Linked DNA regions of Homo sapiens: regions 1, 3, 4, 5, 6 and 7 are each linked to region 2. The links are contacts of gene promoters, found by promoter capture Hi-C in human tissues and cell types (Jung and others, 2019). All regions are on one chromosome and are shown on one strand. The core of a region is centred on a gene start or on the middle of the fragment in contact, and the rest is flanking DNA. Distances in the headings are between cores, read along the strand shown. Region 1 overlaps TNRC6B (trinucleotide repeat containing adaptor 6B). Region 2 holds the start of RPS19BP1 (ribosomal protein S19 binding protein 1). Region 3 has its middle 13 kb from the start of TNRC6B. Region 4 overlaps TNRC6B (trinucleotide repeat containing adaptor 6B). Region 5 overlaps TNRC6B (trinucleotide repeat containing adaptor 6B). Region 6 has its middle 43 kb from the start of TNRC6B-DT. Region 7 overlaps TNRC6B (trinucleotide repeat containing adaptor 6B).

What was found. Contacts are between HindIII fragments. The study calls those that stand out against the background at their distance.
Region 1: a fragment that was not itself captured here is called in contact with the fragment with the promoter of RPS19BP1 in region 2 in 1 of the 25 tissues and cell types used here (spleen).
Region 3: a contact is called between a fragment that was not itself captured here and the fragment with the promoter of RPS19BP1 in region 2, in 1 of the 25 tissues and cell types used here (dorsolateral prefrontal cortex).
Region 4: a fragment that was not itself captured here is called in contact with the fragment with the promoter of RPS19BP1 in region 2 in 1 of the 25 tissues and cell types used here (dorsolateral prefrontal cortex).
Region 5: a contact is called between a fragment that was not itself captured here and the fragment with the promoter of RPS19BP1 in region 2, in 1 of the 25 tissues and cell types used here (lymphoblastoid cells).
Region 6: a fragment that was not itself captured here is called in contact with the fragment with the promoter of RPS19BP1 in region 2 in 2 of the 25 tissues and cell types used here (heart left ventricle and mesenchymal stem cells).
Region 7: a contact is called between a fragment that was not itself captured here and the fragment with the promoter of RPS19BP1 in region 2, in 1 of the 25 tissues and cell types used here (lymphoblastoid cells).

Annotation. Positions count from the first base shown.
Region 1 is chr22:40,273,984-40,276,683 of GRCh38, forward strand. All of the region lies in intron 7 of TNRC6B (trinucleotide repeat containing adaptor 6B), which reads left to right. LOC124905121 (a long non-coding RNA gene) reads right to left here. Exons shown (of 2, transcript XR_007068107.1): 1 at 2,548-2,700. Among named protein-coding and RNA genes, the nearest start is that of ADSL, 71 kb to the right of the region's middle. The HindIII fragment of the contact is 7,274 bases long and covers 1-2,700 here.
Region 2 is chr22:39,531,342-39,534,041 of GRCh38, forward strand. RPS19BP1 (ribosomal protein S19 binding protein 1) reads right to left here and starts at 1,407. Exons shown (of 4, transcript NM_194326.4): 1 at 1,346-1,407; 2 at 1,054-1,182. The coding sequence starts at 1,397. RefSeq lists enhancers at 621-1,136, 1,137-1,652, 1,442-1,501, 1,552-1,601 and silencers at 862-991, 1,172-1,331. The HindIII fragment of the contact is 6,935 bases long and covers 1-2,700 here.
Region 3 is chr22:40,163,328-40,166,027 of GRCh38, forward strand. It overlaps a transcript of TNRC6B not described here. Among named protein-coding and RNA genes, the nearest start is that of TNRC6B, 13 kb to the right of the region's middle. The HindIII fragment of the contact is 6,155 bases long and covers 1-2,700 here.
Region 4 is chr22:40,323,921-40,326,620 of GRCh38, forward strand. It overlaps TNRC6B (trinucleotide repeat containing adaptor 6B), which reads left to right. Exons shown (of 23, transcript NM_001162501.2): 23 at 1-2,700. Among named protein-coding and RNA genes, the nearest start is that of ADSL, 21 kb to the right of the region's middle. The HindIII fragment of the contact is 3,074 bases long and covers 1-2,700 here.
Region 5 is chr22:40,248,336-40,251,035 of GRCh38, forward strand. The region is part of intron 2 of TNRC6B (trinucleotide repeat containing adaptor 6B); the gene reads left to right. Among named protein-coding and RNA genes, the nearest start is that of TNRC6B, 72 kb to the left of the region's middle. The HindIII fragment of the contact is 4,738 bases long and covers 1-2,700 here.
Region 6 is chr22:40,086,630-40,089,329 of GRCh38, forward strand. It overlaps a transcript of TNRC6B not described here. Among named protein-coding and RNA genes, the nearest start is that of TNRC6B-DT, 43 kb to the left of the region's middle. The HindIII fragment of the contact is 3,769 bases long and covers 1-2,700 here.
Region 7 is chr22:40,304,226-40,306,925 of GRCh38, forward strand. All of the region lies in intron 15 of TNRC6B (trinucleotide repeat containing adaptor 6B), which reads left to right. Among named protein-coding and RNA genes, the nearest start is that of ADSL, 41 kb to the right of the region's middle. The HindIII fragment of the contact is 3,956 bases long and covers 1-2,700 here.

The DNA.
Region 1 (2,700 bases), core at 175-2,674, 740 kb after region 2:
TGGGGTCCTCAAGGTCCTAAGTAAGGGGAAAAATATTTTCTTGGAAACAAATAACTACTTCCCTTTTACCCTTCGTCTTGCTTTCCCATGACCTTGAAACCTTGAACTATAAAACTGTTGCTGTGGGTAAAATGAAGTTTTCAAAGATACGAGATATTTTTCATTTTTAGTTTCCACATTATAATAATCTTTTGGAGGCTCTCAAGGCATACTTTATAAATGCTTTTGCATTCTAAAGCCAGAGAAGTCCTTCCAGTAAATCCCCATAGATATGTAGGAGGGAATCCAGAGGAAGATAATGCTGGCTTCTCCCGCGGCAATCAGCACGTCTTGATTTTATCTGATTTGGGAAATTCCAAGACCCAGAACCCTTCTCCCGACAAATGAAATACCAGTGAGTACTTGTGTGCTATAGCAGCTAAATGATTAATGATATCTCTTTTTTTTTTTTTTTTGAGACGGAGTCTTGCTCTGTCGCCCAGGCTGGACTGCAGTGGTGCAGTCTCAGCTCACTGCAAGCTCTGCCTCCCAGGTTCACACCATTCTCCTGCCTCAGCCTCCCGAGTAGCTGGGACTACAGGCAGCTGCCACCACGCCCGGCTAATTTTTTGTATTTTTAGTAGAGATGGGGTTTCACCATGTTAGCCAGGATGGTCTCGATCTCCTGACCTCGTGATCCCGTCCACCTCGGCCTCCCAAAGTGCTGGGATTACAGGCGTGAGCCTCTGCGCCCAGCCTAGCAGCTAGATGATTTCTCTACATCATGTACCAGGTTGTGTACTAAACTTTTCACCTTCTGTGTGAAAGTCCTCATCACAGTTTGATGAGGACTTTGGTTTTCAATCTAGAACAGTAGTCTTTGAGCCTGAACCAGTGTCTTCGCAGACCCTCTCTTTTTTCAATTCCAGATTTTCGTTTGACAAATAAAATAGTGGAAATACGAAATGGGCATCCAATACTTAACTTCAACATGAGAGTCTTGGCACCCTATGAAACGGTTCACAGCTAATATTCTCCCACGTTTCAAATACCAGATGCCATCTTAGAGGCCTTCCCATGTCTGAGGATTGGGCCTTCATCCCCTTTGCCCTTTGCCTATAGGACACTAATTTTGTAGATGACTCTTTCTTTTATAGCATAAGAATACAGTCTGTTTCTGTTTAGAGATGTTTTGCTTAAGCAGTCACTTACGGGTTTTCTTCTATTAAGAGCTTTTATTTCTTCAGTCACAGAAGGAATTATTCAGCAAACTTTTCAGCATTCCTTGCACTCTTAGGTTGTCTAGTGTGATTTTGGCTTTCTTTTGGTTATTTACAAATTAACAATGAGACTAAATTAACTGATTGAAAGGGACTAATAAATACCTCTCTAGGTTGACAACCAAGATTTAATTAAGTTAATTGGGAATTGACTCTTTCAGCCCCAGTACCAGTGATTCTGACTTTATATACCGAGGGCGTTTTTTTTAAAAATTGTGATAAAATACATATAACATATAATTTACCATAGCGTACATTTTTAAGTGTACAGTTCAGTGGCAATAAGTATATTCACATACTTATGTTGCCATTTACCACCATCTATCCGCAGAACTCTTTCTATCTTACAAAACTGAACTCTGTACCTATTAAACAGTAACTCCCCATTCCCCCCTCCCTCTAGTGAGGGCTTTTTTGACCTTAAAACCTGTACTAGCTGGCTGCGGTGGCTCATGCCTGTAATCCCAACACTTTGGGAGGCTGAGGCAGGTGAATCACCTGAGGTCAAGAGTTCAAGACCAGCCTGGCCAACATGGCAAAACCCCGTCTCTACTAAACCTACAAAAATTAGCTGGGTGTGGTGGCAGGCAGCTGCAATCCCAGCTACTTGGGAGGATGAGGCAGGAGAATTGCTTGAACCCAGGAGGTAGAGGTTGCAGTGAGCCGAGATCGCGCCATTGCACTCCAGCCTGGGTGACAAGAGCGAAACTCAGTCTCAAAAAAAAAAACCGCCCCCCACACACACACCAAAAAAACCTGTACTAAACTTAAGTACTTCGTCACTTTCAAGGATAATAAAATTGATTTGATGACTACCATCACGGGCTGGGCACGGTGGCTCACACCTGTAATCCCAGCACTTTGGGAGACCGAGGCAAGCGGATCACGAGGTGAGGAGATGGAGACCATCCTGGCTAGCATGGTTAAACCCCATCTCTACTAAAAATACAAAAAATTAACCGGGCATGGTGGCGGGTGCCTGTAGTCCCAGCTACTCGGGAGGCTGAGGCAGGAGAATGGCGTGAGCCCGGGAGGCAAAGCTTGCAGTGAGTTGGGATGGCACCACTGCACTCTAGCCTGGGTGACAGAGAAAAAAAAAAAAAAAGATAGCTATCATCACAACATAGAGAATTTTCACCTGTGAAATACACAACTGCACAAAGCCCCAGCCCACCCAGTCCTCTTCATAGTTCCCCCTGCTTCCCTCACAGAAGTGAAAGTGGAGCTCATGGTCAGTGCCTTGTTCAGGGGAGAAACTAGTTTGTCCCATTAAAAAATTAAAACCTACCTCTGCCCTACTTTGCCCAGGAGATCAGCAATGGTGTCTTCCACTAGGTCTCTTTACCACCAGGACCAATGTCTTTTATGCTGTGAAACAAACAGAGGAAGCACTATGAGTTCCTTATAATGCCCAGTTTAAATAGGCTCCTTTCCAAATGAC
Region 2 (2,700 bases), core at 157-2,656:
CCTCCTTGGAATTCATAATTCTTTTAACAAATACTTTAACATCTTTTATGCATTAGACTCTAGGGATTCAGACACAGTAAGAGCTTGCCACGTCCTGACACATGTCAAAATATCACCATCTTGCCTACACCAGCCCCTCCGAAAGTCTTTATGTCTATTAAGTGACACTACGTCCCCCAAGAAACTAGGCTCCACCTTCACAGCCAATTCACCACTAAAACCCCTCTAAAGGCTGAAATTCTCTGCTGCCCCCTCTTTAACATATTTTCCACCTGCACAATTCTCTTGTTATCTCTGCTGCTATAGCCACTGCCCAGGCCACAGCATGTCCTATTTCAATGGAGTAGGTAATAGCAGCACTCTGGAGACACAATGCCCGGGCAGCCACAATGCCTGTACCACCTGGGCAGGTGCCTTTTTCTGAATCTGTAAAACGGGGGTGATAGTAGTATCGACCTCAAAGGGCTGCTGTAAGGATCAAACGAGCTTACATTTGTACAGCACTTAGAATCAGCACCTGGTACAGAGTGTTAGTGAATGTGTTTAAATGCTCCATCTTTGATCCTCATTCACTAGGTCACCTTTACCAGCCTTTATTTTTTCAAATTCTCAAAGGCAACAACCTCCTTTCTGACTCAGGACCTTTGCACATACTATTCTTCCTAGAATATTCTCCTACTTTTCACCTAGCTCACTCTTATACATCCTTCAGCTCTCGGCTGAAATGTCGCTTCCTCAGAGAAGGCTGACTTGGCCTAAGTCCCCATCAGAGTACCGTAGTCTTTTAATTCATAGGCTTCAATGCACTTAGCAATGACACACTGGGTTTGATATTCTTTGATGCTTCTCTCCCCACTAGGGCCGTAGTCCACGAGGACCAGGACGGTGGCGTGTTCTGTCACCTTCGTATGTCCAGGGCCCCGCTCCGCGCCTGGCACACAGTAGGTCTAGCAATACCGGGCGAACGCTTCAAGCCCTGCCTCAAGCGCCACCTCCTCTGGGGCGCAGGTCCCAGCACCGGAGGCAGCACTTTCAGCCCCTTCCCGAACTTACCCAGTGCCGACTTGGGCACCTTTCCCTTGGCCGAGTTCCGCAGTTTCTGGGCCTGAATTGCCTTCGTCTTCCGGGGCCGTTTCACCGGAGCCCCTCTCGGCTTGGCCTGACCTGGAGGGTCCCGGGGGGCTGTAGGGGAAGAGAGAGGAAGAGACCCAGGTCAGAGGGCGCGCAGCGTTCCCATGCCACTGGGGCTAAGCCCGGCCTGGATTGTTTTCCATCCAGGGCTCCCGCCCGCAGCCACTACCATCCTCCTGCCCGCGCCGGACGTCCCCTGGCCAGCCCTCCTCACCCTCGGACGCCGCCAGCAGCTCCAGGCCCCGCCGCAGCAGGGCGGCGGACATGGCGGCGCTTGGCTCCGCCCACGAGCCTCACACTACTTCCGACCTGGCAGTCCCTGTCGTCTCGGCGGAAACCCGAGCCCGAACAGAGGGATCCGGAGGGGGATGGGCGGAAGTGCCCATCTTTCTTAGGACGCATGCGTTAGGGGTTTACACTTGAGCGGAAGAAGGGGCGGAAACTGGAGGCGGGTCCAAGGCGCAGAAAGACACATGTGTTACTCAATCCCAATCTACCTGGCTCCTGGCGCTCAGTCCCCTCCTTCCCCGGAAGCCGTCCGCAACCTGCTCCGCCGGGTTGGCCAATCCTCTCGGGTCTCGTGGCTCCGTGGCGGGCTAGGATGGGGACAGGGCGGAGTGTTTTTCATATACTTCAACCAGCACTAGGTATCGCACAGGTTGAGTGCAGCATGAGAATCCAGTTGTCTTCCCTTAAGCCAGACATTAAAGACATATCTTTGTTTTGAAAACTACAATTATTTCTCATAAAATACGTTGTTTATGTTACCAAGCAATGGGTTTATTGTCATTTTAAGTGAATTAATGAATATGTAAAATTTTTGTTTTAGTTTCTAGTATGGCAAATATCAGTTGCCTACATACAAAAGTTCTTTGGGATCCTGAATTTTTTAAAATTTATTTTATTTAATTAAATTAATTTTTTTTTTGAGACGGAATCTCGCTCTGTCGCCCAGGCTGGAGTGCAGCGATCTCGGCTCACTGCAACTTCCGCCTCCCGGGTTCAAGCGATTCTTTTGCCTTAGCCTCCCGAGTAACTGAGATTACAGACGCCCGCCACCACGGCCGGCTAATTTTCTTTTTAAAAAATTTTTAGTAGAGACGGGGTTTTGCCATGTTGGCCAGGCTGGTCTTGAACTCCGGACCTCAAGTGATCCGCCCACCTCAGCCTCCCAAAGTGCTGGGATTACAGGAGTGAGGGGATTCTGAAGTTTTAAATGTAAGAAGCTTCTTAGACCAAAACATTTGAGCCCCTCTGGCCTAGAAGTGACACTGCTTACCTGGGGGAGGAGCCCTGGGCTTGTTCGCTGCTCCATCTGCAGCTGGCAGCCCAGCACCTGGCATGGAGAAGACACGCAATAAGTGAACGGTGAATCAGAAGGGACCACTGGGTTCACTCAGCCGGGTTCTGAGGGCCTTCTGTGTACTTGACACCACAGAGTGTGGGACCTGGAGTTCGTCCTCCGGGATAGACCACACCGTTTAAGCTCCATCGGCTAGAGAGTAATAATAACAACCAACACAAACTCAAGCATTTGTGCTGTTCTACGTGCTTTACATTTGTTAACTT
Region 3 (2,700 bases), core at 102-2,601, 630 kb after region 2:
GTAGTGGTGGCAGTGAGCCAAGATCACACCACTGCACTCTACCCTGGGTGACAGAACAAGACCCTGTCTCAAAAAAAAAAAAAAAAAAAAAAAGTAATTTTAATAGATGACAGAATGAGACCCTGTCTCAAAAAAAAAAAAAAAAAAAAAAAAGGCCAGGCACGGTGGCTCACGCCTGTAATCCCAGCACTTTGGGAGGCCGAGGCGGGCAGATCACCTGAGGTCAGGAGTTCAAGACCAGCCTGGCCAACATGGAGAAACCCGTCTATACTAAAACTACAAAATTAGCCAGGTGTGGTGGCGCATGCCTGTAATCTCAGCTACTCGGGAGGCTGAGGCAGGAGAATCACTTGAACCCGGGAGGTGGAGGTTGCAGTGAGCCAAGATGGCATCATTGCAATCCAGCCTGGGCAACAAGAGCGAAACTCTGTCTCAAAAACAAAAAGAAAGAAAAGAAAAGGGTAACTTTAATAGATAATGTGTTTCACAATTTTATTTTATTTTTTTATTTTATTTAATTTTATAAATAAAATAAGGGGAGGGGAGGCTCAAGGCAGAAAAGATCAGGTTAAAGCTTTATGCTAGATCTTCGGCTCTATGAGGATGGATTTCTGTTGTCTTGGTCACTGCCTAGAGAGGTGCCTGGCACAAAAAGCATCTATAAATATATGTTGAATGAATAAGTTCCCATCGACTGTTAAGAATCCCTCTTCTACACACTCACTTTGAAATCTGAGGTGGTGTTATTATAAAGCCTAATTCCAGAATATTTTATCTGTTATCAGCAGAAGAAAGGTACATTGAAGCACTTTGGGAGGCCGAGGCAGGTGGATCACTTGAGGTTAGGAGTTCAAGACCAGCCTGACCAGCATGGTGAAAACCCATCTCTACTAAAAAGAAAAAAAAAAAAATTAGCCAGGTGTGGTGGTGGGCTCCTGTAATCCCAGCTACTCGGGAGGCTGAGGCAGGAGAATCACTTGAACCTGGGAGGCGGAGGTTGCAGTGAGCAAACATCACACCACTGCAGTCCAGCCTGGGCGACAGAGTGAGACTCTGCCTTTAAAAAAAAAAAAAAAAAAAGGGCATTGTTAACATGTTAACATGTCATGTTCCACTTTATTTTTTTTTAATTAATTTTTTTTAATTTTATTTTGACCAGGCACAGTGGCTCAATGCCTATAATCCAGCATATTGGGAGGCCAAGGCGGGTGGATCACCTGAGGTCAGGAGTCCAAGACCAGCCTGACCAACATGGAGAAACCTGGTCTGTACTACAAATACAAAATTAGCCCAGGCATGGTGGTGCATGCCTGTAATCCAAGCTACTAGGAGGCTGAGGCAGGAGAATCGCTTGAACCTGGGAGGCAGAGGTTGTGGTGAGCCGAGATCGCGCCATTACACTCCAGCCTGAGCAACGAGTAAAATTCTGTCTCAAAAAAAAAAAAAAAAAAGTTTTTTTTTTTTTTTCCCTGAAATAGCGTCTCACTCTGCCCAGGCTGGAGTGCAGTGACACGATCTTGGCTCACTCACTGCAACCTCCGCCTCCAGGGTTCAAGCTGTTCTCCTGCCTCAGCTTCCCAAGTAGCTGGGATTACACATACCCACCACCACGCCTGGCTAATTTTTGTATTTTTAGTAGAGACACGGTTTCAGCATGTTGGCCAGGCTGGTCTCAAACTCCTGACCTCAGATGATCCGCCTGCCTCAGCCTCCCAAAGTGCTGGGATTACAGGTGTGAGCCACCGCACCCACCCCTCCCCCCGGCTCTTTTTTTTTTTTTTTTTGAGACAGGGTCTTACTTTGTCACCCAAGCAGTGCAATGGTGCAATTTGGGCTCACTCAAGCCTCAACCAAAAAAATTCTTTTTGAGACAGGGTCTCTCGCTGTCACCCAGGTTGGAGTGCAGTGGCATGGTCATGGCTTATTGCAGCCTCCACCTCCTGGACTCAAGCAATCCTCCCACTTTAGCCTCTGGAGTAGCTAGTACTACAGGCACGCACTACCATGCCTGGCTAATTTTTTTGTTTTTAGTAGCGACAAAGCCTGACTATGTTGCCAGGCTGGTTTTGAACTCCTGGACTCAAGCAGTCCTCCCACCTCAACCGCCCAAAGTACTTGGATTACAGGCATGAGCCACCATGCCCAGTCATCAACTTTAGATTCAGTCCTTTCTTGAATATGTTCCAACAGACCTGATTTTATCTTCGTTCTCCTTAAGCATCCTACCTATAGGCCAGTGTATTAGTCCATTCTCATGCTGCTAATAAAGAACTTCCTGAGACTGGGTAATTTATAAAGGAAAGAAGTTTAATTGACTCACACATCCACATGGCTGAGGAGGCCTCAGGGAACTTACAACCATGGCGTAAGGGAAAGCAAACATGTCCTTCTTCACTTGGCGGCAGAAAGGAGAAGTGCTGAGCAATGGGGGGGAAAGCTCCTTATATAACCATCACATCTCATGAGAACTCACTATCACAAGAACAGCATGAGAGTAACCACCCCCATGATTCAGTTACCTCCCACTGGGTCCCTCCCACAACACATGGAGATTATGGGAACTACAGTTCAAGATGAGATTTGTGTGGGGACACAGCCAAACTGTATCAGCCAGTTATCAGTTATTGGGTGGTTTTTTTTGTTGTTGTTTTGTTTTGTTTTGTTTTTGGGCAGAAAATGCCTTTCTAGCCAAGTCTGAAC
Region 4 (2,700 bases), core at 72-2,571, 790 kb after region 2:
TTCTCTGTCTCTGTGTGTGTGCCTGTGTTCTTCCCTTCTCCCCTGCCCCACCCTGACTTCTCAGAAAGCTGCATCGCTGACAGTCTGCAGGCTGGCTGGCCGGCCCATCTGCTTTTTATTTTATTTTTTTAACTATGAGAACACACAGGCCCGGAGAGCCACTGCTACTAAAGCAACTCCATTGGGCTGCATTAAGATGAACAGAGTGCTTTTTAATGATGAAAGCAGGGAGCTCCTTTCCATTTGCAACTTAGCCTGAATGTGGGGTTTCTCTGGCTGTTCTTTTGACCTAGCAGTAGAGTGGAGCACTGCCAAGTCCAAAAAACTAGAGCAGGAGGTACCTCTTGGAGCAACGGTGTGTTTATTTCTGTTTTTTTTTTTTTTTAAGTGAATGGCCACCAGGCACATCTGAGTATCTGTTAAGTTTCATGCAGGCCTTTTCGTTAGTTTGAAATGGGAACGGAAGATAACTTTTGATGATGCGATGTCTCAAAAACAGAGAAACTTTGTTCCCTCTTTCCTTATGATCAGGTTTGAGAAATTCTTCAAAAAATTAGGTGAAGTTGAGTTACATATTTCTGTTGGTTGGTTCTCTTTTTCATTTTATGAAAACAGAAAAGAATAAGTGGTGAGCAGCCTCCTGAAAGCATCTGCAGCTACTCCCTCTGCTCCTTTCTCGCCGAGCGTTACCTGTGCCAGGCCGTGGCGCGTTACAGCACCAGGCCATCACTGACAGAAACGTTTACTTAACGAATGTTCTTAAACCAGTGTGTACTTCAAGCGTTTCCTTTTGTTTCTCTGTGTTGTGTATTTCCTGTGTATGTGGTTTTGCTTAGGCAGGTATAACTTAGCGAAGACTTTTAAGTATTGCACCTTTTTTTGATTTTTGACCTCTTCCCCCCACCTTGTAATTTTGCTTTTTTAATTTCGGTATTTAAATACTTTTTTTTTTTTTTAAGCATCAATGTAGTAGTACTCTGGGCCGAACAGGGGTCAACGTTTAATCTACAGTTATCACCAACATGTATGTACTTATGTCGGAATCAAAATGTATCAAACTGCTTATTGTGAAGAGAATTATAGCAGACCTGAAGGGGGCGAAAAACCAGATAGGGTGGGGGGATGGATGCCGGTGACGTGCTAGCACTTGTGTGGACATCCCAGTCTGCATTATGCTGTTTAACATAAAGTGCCGACATTTTGTACCAGCAAATACCTGCCCATTCCAACCCTTGGTGGGAGCAGACCTCTACTGTCCTCTGTAACTTGCTGCTATTGAGGACAAGGGAGTTTTTCTTTCTTTAGCGTCTTCAGTGAAGGATACAATACAACAATGCCTAATGTATTTGACTTTTTAGCTTGTGTCTGTGTGTAGGTGGGTGGGTGGGTGTGTATAGGAAAAGCCTAAAACAAGTTATTTGCATTTCAGTGGTTTTGTGAGACAAAGAATGGGAAATTCTGTAGCCCTTCTGGCTTACCCTGTTGATTATAAACCTAGCCTCAAAAGAGATTGACAGGCATGACTCAAGTGAGTGTTCACATATACAAGCCTGCATGAGCCCTCTGTGGGTAGGTGGTCACACTTGGCATCTGCAGCATTGACGTGGCCCCGCTGGGTGCCTTGAGCATGCCCTCTTCCTGCTCTGCAATTTGAATCACCACCGTGCCCCTTCCACCACTGTTCCCCATGCAAAAGCTCTGCTTCCAGCAGCCCCCACTGACCGCTCTCTGTGTGGAGCAAAGTGCTGTCGTGCGGTGACCACCAGGTGAAGAGCAGCTTGTATTCAGACATCTAGAGAAGGTTAAATCTTAGTGTCCCTGGGCCAGGAGCATATCCCAAGGCTCCTGCGAGCCAGTGGCGACCCTGTCCACTGCCGCTCTTGGTTCACTGCTGTGTCCTGCCCCACCCTCCTCTCCTCCTGCCTGTTGGTTCCTTGACCTGCACTATGGGTTAGTTGAGTTCCTTACGATACTACGGTGAAAGCCGGGTGCTAGAGCCCCTCTTGTTTACAAGACATAATGAGGGATTTGAAATATGTAAAAATAAACATGAGAAGCTAAAATGTTCTTCCATCATAAGCTTAAAGGGAAAAAAACTAAAAACTTTAAAAAAAAAAGACCAAAAAGTGCGTATATATATACATATAAATATATATTTTAGATGAAGACTAACTCTGGGAGCATTTAACAGTGTTTTTTGTTTCTGTTTTTAACATTTGTTTTCCTGCTTTAAAATTTGCAAGCATTCTCAGGAATTCTAGGGTAGGAAGCCAGTTTTTTGAAGATGGTTTATTTAACCATATCTTATCCTAGAGAGATGGCTGTTTCTTTCCTGTTAATAAACTTTTACAAGTTCCTGAAACTTCAGAAAGTTTAAACAATTTTTACTTAAAAAAATGTAAAAAGAAAAGTCTCCAAACATTATTGTCATACTGGGGATCACACATTTTAAAACACATAGAAATATTTTTTAAAAATTATCAATTTAGCAGCAACAGGTAAATTCATTATCTTAAAAATATGGGAGAAGGATTAAGCTTTGTAAGAGCTCGATCATGGATTCTTTTGAAATTGTGTGTAGTTTAATGGGAGAGTGTTTGGTGTATATAGATGAGAATGCCATCACTTTGTTCCTTTCCATTTGAGACTGAACTGAAATCTCCCCTAGTAATTTTTATTTTTTTAAAGGAACCCTTCTCC
Region 5 (2,700 bases), core at 137-2,636, 720 kb after region 2:
TCTACTAAGTTGATACAAAAATCGGATTTTGCAGTCTATGGAGATGAGTGATTAATAGGCTGGGTACCAAGGTACTTGAGCAAAGGCTGTTAACAAGAGGATGCCAAACAGAGTGATTTAGAGAGTATATATTCCTCTTCATTTTTAACATACATAACAGTGTTTTCTTAAACTACAAATATCAATACCTAAAATGATTAATAAAATATGCCTCTGTAATATGCCTTTGATTGGATTCCACAAAGAAAAATGATTTAAAATAAAGATGGTGTGAATGTACTTGAGAGTGAATGAGATTATTTATGCAGAGAATGTAGTTTATGTAGCTGGACAGTCTCTCCTATGTGCCTTCATCTGCATTAAGAACTGATGAAGAAGTGATAGCAAAGGGGAAAATTACCGTAAATAAAATTTTTAAGTGATTAATTTTATGAACAATAAAAATTCTATCGTTTTTGCTCAAAAATGTTCCAGATCAGCTTGACATAGAATCTAGGCTGACGCAGGCTGATGCGTGGCCTTTGATCTTGTTTTATTATACTGAACCATTGCATAATTTCAGAATTAAATTCTGATTTAGCAGTTTTAAGGAGAGCACAAAGCTTACCATGTGATTATCTTCGTGGTTTCCAACCTTATTGTAGAGACATCACCTCAGCTAGGAGCCATAAAATGTGCTATGATGCAAAGAATCGTGGAGAACGTGCCAGAGATCTATCATGTGGTCAGTGGTTCATTCATTCGGTCCGCAAACATTTGTGGTGCCTCTTCTAAGGGCTTCCACATCTCTCATGCTGCTTTCCCCAGTGCTTTTTGACCACCTCTTTGTGTCCATCTTCACTGTTAGACTGACTGTAAGTTTCTTGGTTTTATTCGTATTTGTATGGCCAGTAACTAGGGCAGTGCCTGGTGCAGGATAATCACTCAGAAATTGTTTAATAAGTGAATGGTCAAGAATGAAGGTGGAAACATAATTTTCTTGAAGAATTGACACTTACTTAAAGCTAAAACTAAATTACCTCCACACAGAAATTAAGCATGAGCCTTTTCCAGTGTTCATTGGTTGTAGCAGTTGGCTCTTCCTGGAGCCATCACTGAGTAAACTGGTAGATACCCATTCATGAGAGAGGTGTCAAAGAAGGGTTCCATTCACATTCATTTAGGCTGATGCTGCTAAAGGAGCATTGTTTAGCGTTGGCAGAACACATGCTTTGATCATCCAGCTTCTCGCCGTCTGGGGGACAGCTTTTAACAGAACCCACATGATAAAACATATTTGACATTATTTGGGCTTGTTGCTTACAATGGGAAGGCACTGACTTCCTGTATAACTGATCTTCAAAATGGCATTCTAAGAAATAGTTACAATGATATAAAACCTAAATTGCCTTCGGGAATTGGTATGTGGCTGCATTGTCATTCATTCTTGGATAAGTAAAGATGTAGAAAAATTACACAAGAATATTTTCAGTAGAATTGAGCTCTGTAACAGTACTGGGAAACATTCATTTTTAAGATGCTGGATTCCACAAATTCACTGTAATAGAATTAGCTTGTCATTTAACACAGGAATGTAGGAAACACACCAGGAAGTTCTACAGGCGGATCCTTTAACTCTTATTTAGAGTCTGATGGTGTGCTGGGATCCATTGCGAGGTGGGCTGGTCAGCTACAGGACCTTCCTTCCAGGGATGATTGTGTTTTTGTGAACCCCCATGGCCGTAATCCAGTACGATTACCAGCCACAAATCATCAGACTTCTTCTTTGCTATATGAATATTTTTATTACAAAAGTCAGATAACCAAGTAAAAATGCTTTAAAAGATTAACAGTTGGGAAAATGGGTCAGAATCACCCACAATCTCAAAAATTTAGTGTAACCACTATTGGAACAATGGCTTAGTTCCTTTTGGATGTTTTGCTTGTGCATCACCTTTGTGGTTTTATTGTTATAAATTAGATGCCCTCCTTTATTTTCCCCTCTTAAAAATATCAGAAGCAGTTTTCTGTAAGGCTCCTAATCATCATTTCCAAACTCTCTGAAGTCCATTACTATGTTCAGCCTGTCCAGCCTTCTAGGTTAATCATTTCCATAGACGTATTAGTTACTATATAAAGAAATACTTTCTTTTTTTTTTAACAAAGCACCCTTGATTTGTCCAAAATTTACATATTTCAATCTTACTGCTGTACTTCATGCTATTTTATATAAGTGTTGATAATAACAGCAAACATTTATTGAGCACTGCATAGCATATCTGATTTAATCCTTACAGCAGTCCTTTGCAGGGTTTATACTATTATTATCTCCATTCAATAGATAATAGAAAACTGGGGGTCTCATAGCCAGAAAGTGACAAGGTTTGGTTTTGAATCCTGCTTTCCGACCATGACGTCTGATGCCTCTGATGATGAGTCCCTGAGGTTTTGCTTTTAGATTTCAGATCAAGTGTTTGTGTCTATACTCATAGGGGAATCTTTTTGTGTCTATGGCTAATTTAGTTTCTGGGCCACATTCATGTGATTTTTCTCTAGTCATAGCATTCAAAATGCAAGTAGCATTCTCAGTGGGACCTCATCGTATAATGAGTGGAATGCTTTTTTTTTTTTTTTTTTAAGTTTTACTATTCTTCCTAATGGTGGTCATGTAAATTATAGCTGGACATATGGCCACAGTCTCTGGAAGGATGTCTGAACTGA
Region 6 (2,700 bases), core at 164-2,663, 560 kb after region 2:
TTAATAGATACTTATCAGAATATCTGTAGAGTTCAAAAGATGTCTTCTTTCACCTTGAATTTGAATGGAGAGAAATTCAATTTTTTCTTCTATGAAATATGGAGTGTTTTCGTTTGTCGTTAGAGAAAAAGGAAAACAAAGGTTTTAGATAGAAATAAAATGAAGCCTTAACTCCCCTTTAAAATTGATTGTCCTCTCTCTGCCATACTTTGTTCATCATGTCCAGTGAAGAGAGATGCTAATAAGCTTTTCATATTTCCAGCTACATAAAAACCAGGCAGTGTTTAAAGATTATCATTATAGCATTTGTTTGATGTATTTCTTAAGTCTTTTTTTTATCTCCAGGTCCCCCGTCCCTGTAGGCTCCCCTCTCACAGACACAAGCCTTCTTCCTGGCATTTTTAGGAGGGCCTGGTGTTGTGTTTGGAAAATTTTGCTTTATTATATATCCTCAGCTTATACTGCATCAGTAGTGAAAAGCTTAGTTTTGTGTTTGGTGTAAGTAATGTGTTTCTGGATATTTTTATCATAAAAACTCATTATAGATAAGAGATGGAAATATATCATTAGAATGATTGTATATTTAAATTATGAATCAAGTTAGAGGAGAATGGAATATTGCCCCCTTATGGGAAGACTCTGGAATGTAGAAATTTTTTTCAGTATGTAACAACTTGGTCCTGCCTTCTTTCCCAGTGTTCAGGATCTAATTCAGCCATTTTATACATGATATGTTAAGCTTTTCATTAATTCAGTTATTCATTTGACACATACTGAGCACCAGAGTAATACCAGGCATGGTACTAGGAAATGAGAATAAAGAAATAAGAAACACACATGCTAAACTGACCATTTTCTAGTGGGAGAAAGACAATTATATATGTAATTCCAAACACTGGTAAGTGCATTTTAGGAAAAATACAGGGAGCTGTAAGAGTGATTAACTGGGGGGAGCCTGGCTTAGTCTGAGAGGACAGAAAGGCCTTTCTGACAAAGTAACATTTAAGCAAAGATTTAAAGGAAAAGTAGGCATTGGCCAGGTGATCATTGGGTCCAGAGCCTTCAAGCAAAGGGGCTAGCTATGTGTGAAGGTCCTGAGGGAGGAAAGAGCTTGAAGCCTTGGGGGACCTGGGAATGCTAGTGAGGCTGGAGACTGAGAGGGAGGCAGGGAATTAGGAGAGGAGCTGGAGATGTAGGCAGGGCCCTCATCACAGAGGCTGCTGTTGGCCTCCATCTCCGTTACAGATGTACAGCGTTTGGTGACCCAGACTAGAGACCAGACATAATACTTTTCAGGACCTCTTGGTCCTCCTGGGAGATGCTGGGAACTCTGAGTTCAGCTTTTCTCTCCTATTTCTCGAGGGTCCTTTGTTAATAAAGAAATATTTTTAAAATTATTCCTGCTTACCTTGTACTTAAGAGTGAAAGAAACTTTTAATAAACGGAATTATTTTTGGCTAATCTTCAGAAACCTTCACTCCAAGGATGAACTCATAAAAAGTTGTACCTTTAAAAGACTTTCCTATCTCGTCTCATCCTCACAGCGACCTTATAAGGTGGATATTTACTATTTTTCACATCATACAGAAAAGAGACTGAAGCTCTGAAAAATTAGGTAGTTCCTCAAGGCCAGCTAATAGGTGGTGAAGCAGGAACTGGACAGCGGGCCTTCTGACTACAGACCCAGTGGTGTTTGTGCTCTGTTCTTCCACTTACTATGAATGCAAGAGCTTCTACATATTTTGATCTCAGTATCTGCAACTTATTTATTTTGTTTTCTTTGTTGTTGTTGTTGTTTTTGAGACAGAGTCTCACACTGTTGCCCAGGCTGGAGTGCAGTGGTGCAGTCTCAGCTTACTGCAACCTCCGCCTCCTAGATTCCAGCAATTCTCCTGCCTCAGCCTCCTGAGTAGCTGGGATTATAGGCACCTGCCACCATGCCCGGCGGCTACTTTTGTGTGTGTGTGTGTGTGTGTGTGTGTGTGTGTGTGTGTGTGTGTGTTTTAGTAGAGACGGGGCTTCACCATGTTGGTCAGGCTGGTCTCTAACTCCTGACCTCAGGTGATCCACCCACCTTGGCCTCCTGAAGTGCTGGGATTACCTGTGTGAGCCACCTTGCCCAGCCAATTTATATTTTTTTAATGGAAGAATAAATCATACAAGCTTAAAAATTATGAGAGAAGGAGGAAGGAAATAGGGTAGAGGGGACAGGGAGAGAAGCTAGACTGCCTTAAATATGGTTGATAGCTTTTTTAAATGGAAAATGAGAAACAAGTAAACCTAAATTTTAAACCTCACTAATTCGAACTTTACATTCTTAGTGGGTATATGCCCTGAGAGTGAAAAAAGAACTGCAACAAACAGTAGCAACAACAACAAAGTCCTTCAACTGTACTCATGTGGAACATACCAGTGATCTTGTTAGTACTATTTTGAGATTGTTGTTGAGTGTATATTGTCAGAAAAAAACAAATGAGTAATTATGTGGTACTTTATAATTTCCACTGTTTTGAGATCCAGATTCCCAACATGGGTGAAAGGAGATACAAATATAAAATAAAAGAGGTTAAATAAAACCCTGTTAACTTGATTTCTTCATAGACTTTTTTTTTCTTTTTTTTGAGATGAAATCTCACTTTGTCACCCAGGCTGGAGCGCATTGGTGTGATCTTGGCTCACTGCAACCTCCGCCTCCCGTGT
Region 7 (2,700 bases), core at 42-2,541, 770 kb after region 2:
AATTAAGAATTTGAATGACTAATGACTGCTTAACTAATCCTTACTGATTCTTTTGTAAAACAGATGGTTTCTAATTCTGTCCTTTTAGCAAAATTGAAAATATACCTAATTGAGGTTGAGTGCGTGGCTCATGCCTGGTAATCCCAGCACTTTGGGAGGCCAAGGTGAAGAGTGAGAGGGAGAGGGAGACAGAGAGAAAGAATACCTAATTGAATTGTTAGGTGATAATGACCTATCTAAAAATTATATTTTAGTATCTGTGTTACTGGGCTAGGGGAAGGAACATATACTTTAAAAGAAATTCGAGAAGTAAGTTATAACAAGACTCCTTCTGTTCCCATCTACTTATTTATATGAGTCAAATTTCTTAGTGCTTTATGTCAACAAAGAAATTTAAAATAAGATGGTAGCGAAAATTCTCATTATAGTAAGGAGTGTTGGTTACCGTGGATATCTGAACTCATTTAGAAACAAAGTAATTCATCTTCTTAGAAAATGCATTTCTGATAAAATTTCACTTTTTATGTTTAAAATTTATCAAAATTTGTAATATTTATTTGGTATATCCCTGTGAAAAGTAAAGCTGAATAAATATTGGAGATTATAAAAATGACAGAAGAGTAATTGTATCTATGCTGCAATTATGATTGTGTCGATACCAAGTGTACATGTGGACACGGACTTAGAACAGTTGTGTTAGGATGGCCAATTATGGGTGATTTTTTAAAAATAATTATAGAAACTAGTTTGTTTTTTAATGTATAGCAAAAAGAGGAGCAGAAAACAGAACTGTAAACAGAGAGAGTGAAGGCAGGATCAGTGTAAGGACAAGTTAATTTAAGAGCATTTCCTCAAGGATGTAAGAATGGAGCCAAAAGTCGTGAACAGACCATGAATTAGGGTGTGTGGAGAATGAGAGAGAGTAATTCTAGCAAAGACGCATGAGGCAGGCAAAGGGTTGTCCTTGCATGAATGATAAAAGCAGGTGACAGGCAAGGGGCATGTCTTACCTCTACTTGTACCTCAGCTCCTAACACAGGGCCTGGCACAGATTACACTGTCCATAAATATTCATTGAACTGAACTAAATGGCTTAATTTGAGCTAAAGCTCTGTGTTGGTGAGAAATTTCAGGGAAACCACTTGGTGGACTAAGGAAATTTTGTTTTGCTGTAGTGGAAAGTACAATACAGTCAGTATTTTCTTGGGTTTAGAGATACGACAGCTTGTAAATAGCCGAAGGTCACTAGCGAAGCACCATCTCTTCTTTGTTAGTGCACCCACTAGAGCACAGTGTCCCAGAATTCCTTCCATCAAAATGCATCAGACACATTCCATATCCTAGCGTCAGGCTGGTTACTACGTGACATCAAAGAAAATTATGTCCGTCTTCGCCTGATTTTTCCTCTCATACTTTGGGGTTTGTAGATTGAACCTTTCAAGGCAATTTTCTCACCTATTCTTTCTCTTACCCCTTGGATTATTTTTCCTGACCAAACCTTGTGAGGCAGCGCTGGGACTGCCCTACTGTGGTGGCATTTGATCCCCAAGTCTCTAATGAGAAAAGTGCCCGCTTTCTCTAAGGTTCTTGCCTTTCCTTGCTTGCTTACTTTTTCTTTCTCTTTCTCTTTCTTTCTCTCATTCATTTTCTTTCCTTCTTTCCTCTTATGTTTCTCTTTTTTCGCTTTTTTCTTTCTTTGCCCTTTTGCTATAACTTTAATTTTCTGCATTTCATTTGTCACCAAAAAAGCTCTAAGCAGCTGAAATTAAAGAAATTTAATTCACTGGCTGGGCGCGGTGGCTCACACCTGTAATCCCAGCACTTTGAGAGACCGAGGCGGGCGGCTCACAAGGTCAGGAGATTGAGACCATCCTGGCTAACACGATGAAACCCCGTCTCTACTAAAAATACAAAAAAAATCAGCGAGTGTGGTGGCAGGCACCTGTAGTCCCAGCTGCTCGGGAGGCTAAGGCAGGAAAATCGCTTGAACCCAGAGGCGAAGGTTGCAGTGAGCCAAGATTGTGCCGCTGCACTCCAGCCTGGGCGACAGAGCGAGACTCCGTCTCAAAAAAAGAAAAGAAAGAAAAAAAGAAATTTAATTCACTATGGGTTTTATAGAAATTTTAGAGTAACTTCAAAGAAAATTAATGTGTAAGGAATGGTTCCTCCTCTTCTTAGTAATGCTAGTATTCTTTTTAATCTTTGCCAGAATCCTAGGTTATTTCCAAAAACTCTTTCTCAATGATTAGAACTGAGCTTTCAGGTGGCCTGGAATCCAAGCACCTTGGCCTGGTTTTCTCAAAGGCAGAAGTGTAATTTACTCAAGGAGCAACCTGCTTAGGCCATTAAGGCTATGTCAGAGAAAACCTTTGTTCCTTGCAACCTTCCTGCCCTGCAATCTAATTTCATTTCTGCTACCCAGGATGAAAGAAATTTAAAAATGCCTCAAACTCTTCTTTAAAAAAAATAAATAAATAAGGCCAGGCACGGTGGCTCATGCCTGTAATCCCAGCACTTTGGGAGGCAGAGGTGGGCAGATTGCCTGAGCTCAGGAGTTCTAGACCAGCCTTGGCAATAGGGTGAAACCCCGTCTCTACTAAAAATACAAAAAATTAGCTGGGCATGGCTGTGGTGTGCCTGTAGTCCCAGCTACTCAGGAGGCTGAGGCAGGAGAATTGCTTGAACCCAGGAGGCGGAGGT